Regions from separate parts of the Homo sapiens genome. Here region 1 is linked to region 2. Evidence: promoter capture Hi-C in 16 types of primary human blood cells and fetal thymus (Javierre and others, 2016). All regions are on one chromosome and are shown on one strand. The core of a region is centred on a gene start or on the middle of the fragment in contact, and the rest is flanking DNA. Distances in the headings are between cores, read along the strand shown. Region 1 holds the start of TMEM91 (transmembrane protein 91). Region 2 has its middle 10 kb from the start of CEACAM21.

What was found. The method cuts DNA at HindIII sites, captures the fragments that hold promoters and counts their contacts. A CHiCAGO score of 5 or more calls a contact.
Region 1: the fragment with the promoter of TMEM91 here is called in contact with a fragment that was not itself captured in region 2 in 4 of 17 cell types (naive B cells, total B cells, fetal thymus and 1 more); the score reaches 8.2 in naive B cells.

What each region holds. Positions count from the first base shown.
Region 1 is chr19:41,375,084-41,377,783 of GRCh38, reverse strand. It overlaps TMEM91 (transmembrane protein 91), which reads right to left and starts at 1,251. Exons shown (of 4, transcript NM_001098821.2): 1 at 930-1,251. RefSeq lists a silencer at 1,006-1,135. The HindIII fragment of the contact is 2,591 bases long and covers 857-2,700 here.
Region 2 is chr19:41,564,389-41,567,180 of GRCh38, reverse strand. It overlaps a transcript of CEACAM21 not described here and the pseudogene LOC110467527. Among named protein-coding and RNA genes, the nearest start is that of CEACAM21, 10 kb to the left of the region's middle. The HindIII fragment of the contact is 260 bases long and covers 1,248-1,507 here.

The DNA.
Region 1 (2,700 bases), core at 2-2,501, 190 kb after region 2:
CAGCCTTGGCCTCCCAAAGTGCTGGGATTACAGGCGTGAGCCACCGCACCCAGCCAAATTCTGGGCATTTCTCTCAGGCAAAAGCCACATACCCATCACACTTACCCCAATAAGTTGCAGCACCTGTTGCACCATGCCTTACACACTTACCTGCCCCACAAACACCCCCAATATCCATCCCAGGTTCATACCGCGTGACCACCTATCCAGGCCCAGGCACCCCTCCCAGTCACACACACACCCATCCCCTACCCCCAGTGCTGCCTGGAACTGCACTCTAGTCTACATTCCCCATCCTCTGTCCCCTAGACCTGCCCCCCGAAGTCCCCTGCCACACAGCCCCATCTAGGCAAGCCCAGCCTCCACCTCCACACATTCATCTCCCAAAGGACTCCTTGAATATTTGCCCCAAAACATCAGCTCCCAGAAAACACCCCTTTCAGGTCCCCAACCTTCTTACACATTTATCCCAATTGACTCCGTGCACAACCCTACTCCCCACTGCATCACAAACCACAGACACCTGTGCACACACGCACACATGCACCCCGGCACTCTCTCCTATTCTCATGACCTCTGGCATGCCTGCCCCACTCATCAGGCCCAGGCACCCCTGCCCTACTCCACCCACACACCTATGACTCCACACAACTCCCACACATGCACCAGCTCTCCAGAATCCTTTGCACACCTCGCCCCCATAAACACCCTCAACCCCAGCACACACATACACGTACACACGCAACACAACCAGAAAGAATATTCTTCTTCTCGTCCTACGATCCCCCTGGAAGGTCCCCAAGCCTCCTGCCTGCTCATTCCAAACCTTGACTGAGCCGATTTCCTCGCCAAAGCTTTGCCCTCTCATCCCCAACTCCAGGACCCAGGGAAGGGACTGTGACCCCCACCCACCTACGTCCCTCACTCACCGCTCACGATCACAGGCCGGGGCTTCCTGAACCCTCGCAATGACACTTGCCCGGACCCTGCCACCGAGGATCCAAGGGGCGCTGGGACCTTGCGCTTTGCTCTACGCGGGTCTCAGCGCCCCGGGCCCGCTGCGCGCGGGGGCGGGGACGGGGCGGGGCGACGGCTTCCCAGGCTCTGTCCCTCCGCGGCGTCCGGCGAGGGATCCCTGAAAGCCGACGTCAGCGTCCAGGAACGGGTTCCTACGACTCCCGGGGGTCTGGGAGCAGGCGGGAATCCTTGGAGAACTGCAGCCCCTTCCTCGTGAGCCCAGGCCCAAGCTCTGCCGGAGGAGGGGGCACCCCGGATTCTCCAGGGCCTTCCTGGCTTGGCCCCGCCTCCCTTCCCCTTTGCGCAATAATAGCCAATAATAATAACAGCAACAAGGACCGTGCGCCCTGTTCTAAGTGCTTTGCAAATAAACTTACATACACATGTATTCCTCAGCACAACCCTAAGAGGCATAATCGTTTATTGTCCTGTTTCACGCGGGAGGAAACTGGCAAGCCGAGGTTAGGTAAATTGCCTAGGGGTACATCATTGGTTCATTGAGGGCAGACTGTACCCAAGCCCTGTGTTAAACGCTTTACATTCATCATCGCATTCATTCTTCCTCTCAGCTCCGGGTTTTTCTTGTTGTTGTTGTTGTTGTCGCTGCTATTTTACTTTGGTTTTTTTGTTTGTTTTGTTTTGTTTTTGAGACGGAGTCTTGCTCTGTCGCCCAGGCTAGAGTGCAGTGGAGTGATCTCGGCTCACCGCAACCTCCGCTTCCCGGGTTCAAGCGATTCTCCTGCCTCAGCCTCCCGAGTAGCTGGGATTACAGGGGCAAGCCACCACGCCCAGCTAATTTTTGTATTTTTAGTAGATGAGATTTCGCTGTGTTGGTCAGGTTGGTCTTGAACTCCTGACCTCAGGTGATCTGCCCGCCTCAGCCTCCCAAAGTGTTAGGATTACAGGCGTGAGCCACCGCGCCCGGCAGATTTTTTTTTTATTATTATTTTTTAAAAGACGGGGTCTTGCTCTGATCGCCCAGGCTGGAAGGCAGTGGCGCAATCATTGCTCGCTTCAGCCTCAGACTCCTGGGTTCACTGCAGCCTCGGCCTCCCAAAGCGGTGGGATTACAGGTGTGAGTCACCGCGCCTGGCCTATTTTGTTTTGGGGTGTTTTTTTGCGGAGGAGTGCTGAAGGGGTGTTGGCTTGTTTTTAATCCCTGTTTTGCAGATAAAGAAACGGGCTCACGGGCCGGGCGCAGTGGCTCACGCCTGTAATCCCAACACTTTGGGAGGCCGAGGCGGGCGGATCACGAGGTCAGGAGATCCAGACCATCCTGGCTGACACGGTGAAACCCTGTCTCTACTAAAAATACAAAAAATTAGCCGGGCTTGGTGGCGGGCGCTTGTAGTCCCAGCTACTTGGGAGGCTGAGGCAGGAGAATGGCGTGGACCCGGGAGGCGGAGCTTGCAGTGAGCCGAGATCGCGCCACTGCACTCCAGCCTGGGAAACAGCAAGACTCCGTCTCAAAAAAAAAAAAAAAAAAAAAAAAAGAAAAGAAAATAAACGGGCTCACTTGCATGCTCACTTGGCCACAGTAAACAGCTGGTACCAAGCCCAGCATATTGTAACCCCGGGCTGTGTTCCTGTGGCCCTTGCTAAGCCAATGGGTGAGGAGGAAGCAGAGGCAGGTGGGTTAGGAGTTTCTAGGGAAAGAAGGCTGAGGAGTGGGGTCCAGTAGGG
Region 2 (2,792 bases), core at 128-2,627:
CTTTGTATTCCCATGCCTTCTTTTATATGTTTCCTTATAGTACACAAAACCACATTATTGTTTCTTTACTTGTGTCATTCCACCCTGGACCATTCCTATCTAAACCATAACATTATGAGAGAGAGAGAGAGAGAAAACAATATGAAAATATAAATTGATTAATCAAAAAAATTTAAATAGGACAAATCAGGAAGACACAAGAGAGATTTTAAAATTATTCAGAGAATACCACAATAGCTGTACCAATATATTTTAAAACTTAGATGAAACGGACAACTATCTCGATAAATGTAAATTACCAAAACTGACTCATGAAAAAATGGATATTATGAATAGAGCAATAATCAGTAAAGCAATTAAAAAGACAGTTGATAATTTTTATTTACTGACAACAATAACAAAATTTCAGGTCCTGATATTTTTATGGTGAATTTTAACAAATTTTCAAGCTCCTCCTCAACCAATTCTCAGAAGGTTTAAAACTTTAACAAGAAAACACTTTCTAACACATTTTCAGAAGCTGTTATAGCATGATACCAAAACCACACAAGAAAATTATAGACCAATCTCACTTACAAATATACATGCAAAATCAAACAAAATCTTAGTGAACCAAATTCAGAATTAATAATAGCAAACAAGCAAAATATGTTATCATACGTATGGCTTATATCAGGAATGCAAGTATGTTTCAACATCAGAAAATACTTCTCCACATTAACAGACTAAAGGAGAAAAACGCTTGTTTAATTATCTCAATAGGTTTTTAGAGAATTTTGAAAATTTTATAAAGTTATGCGTATTCTGTAAAATTGATGAAATCCAACCTTGATTTATTTTTAAAAATTGCCTTTCCTATAGAATTATAGGTAAAGGAAACACATGCATCCTCACAGAGCTACTTCAAGGCTAAGTTACTTCCCATAAGTAACGTATTCTGTAATGTGTGCTTGGCACATATTCAATACTAAACAAATATTTGCAAATCCTCAAACCACTTCTCGCTCAAATAACCCACCTTTGTCTTTTGCCTTTATGTTAGGGTTGATTTTCTCAATTGTATCTTGGAGATCCTTTGGTGGGTCTTTCAGCAATTACCCTGAATTTGCTTTTCTGTTTACAATTTTAATTCCTGGGAACTCTTTCTTGTTCTCTGACTGCACCCTTTTCATGAGAGTTCAGCCATCAATCCTCCAGAACCCCACCCCCCCCGCCCCCCCAAAAAGCAATAAAGATGTCTAAAAGCTTCTTTCTGGGCTTTCGAATGATGTTTACCCCAGGCATTTGTTCTATTCGTTCATCACCCATTTTCCCTACAACTTGCCTACACTTGATATCAGATTTTTATTTATTAGTCACCTATCTTCTTCATTGGCCCATTTTCCTATTTTGCCACTGGTTGTTCTCAAATGTGTTATGATTCCTGGTTGTACAGTCAAGTGGTTGATAATCTTGGATATACGATAAAGATTTGCTCTGTAGCTGTGTGTAAGCCTATATAAAAGCTTTTGTATTTTTCTTCTTAAAAAAGACAAAAGATGGTTGGGAAGATCCCTCCAGTTCACCAGTTCGAGGCTGCAGTGAGCTATGATAGCGCCGCTGCTCTAGCCTGTCTGTGAAAAACAAGGGGGGCGGGGGGCGGGGGGGAAGACTGGAGATGTAAATCTCCCGCAGGGCCCTACCCGTATCCGCAACAGGTCTCTAACAGGAACAGCCTCAGGCCTGTGTTGGAACAAGGTAGGTTACAGAAATCTGGAAGCCAGATCTGTAACTTCAGGGTAAGGACTGGCTCTCAGGGCTGATCCCCCGGGCTGGGTGTCCCAGAGGCACCCGCCCCCGCCCCTTCCCCAAGGCAGGCCAGGACACCTTCACTCCTCTCCTTAGGCTCCCCACCCCCTTCTCCTCCCCACTGTGCCTCCTGGAGTAGCGGTGGCGGTGCCACAGGGGAGCGGGGCGGGGCGGGCTCTGAGGGCAAGGGGGATGGGCCCCGCCGGGGTCACTGGCGGCCACCCTGGAAACTCGACGCAGGCCGGCCCTTCTAGTGAATCGTCCCAGCCACAGCTGGCCTCCCAGCCGCGCTTGGGGCGCCTCGGGGCGCGAATGGTGCAGGTTGGGGAGACTCACCACGCACCGTCGGGGGTCGGTCCGGTTATTCCTCACCGCTCGGCTCCAGTGGGCGCGCGGGCCTCTCCTCCTCAGTTCCTGCGCTGCAGTCCCTCCCTCACCCTTCGCAGCTTGGGAATCCGACTGTGTCATTCCGACGGAGCGCCGTGAGGACCTCCGAGGGTGTTAGCGCCAAGTGATCTCTGTCCAGCGCTCTGAATATCCAAGTAAAGGAGTTCAATGAAGGGCGGGTCAACGGAGGAGAAACCGTGACTCTCTCAAGGGAGCCCAAGGCCTCCTTGTCTAATTAGTGACGCGCCAATGGATGGAGGCTCTTCCCACCATCTCTTCCCAGCATCCAGTGACACCACCGCCAAGGGACGGGCTCGGCGGAACCTGCAGGAAAGAAGCATCGGCTGAGCCTGACTGCAGCGCTGTGAAGAGACAGGGGAGGGGATCAGTAGTTGGTCCCGCGCCCACCCCCTGTTTCCGCGAGGGGCGGAGTTGACTGGCCATGCAGGCAGAGGGCGAAATGTGAAATTCCACTACTCCTACCGTTTTTCCCTGACCCGATGGGGCGGAGTGTCGTCAGGCTAAGTTCCCTGGCGGTAAGGTGGGGAGATTGAGGCGCACACCTGCCGAACGGTAACGCAGGATTAGCTAAGGCGAGCTCAGGACAGAAGCCTCCC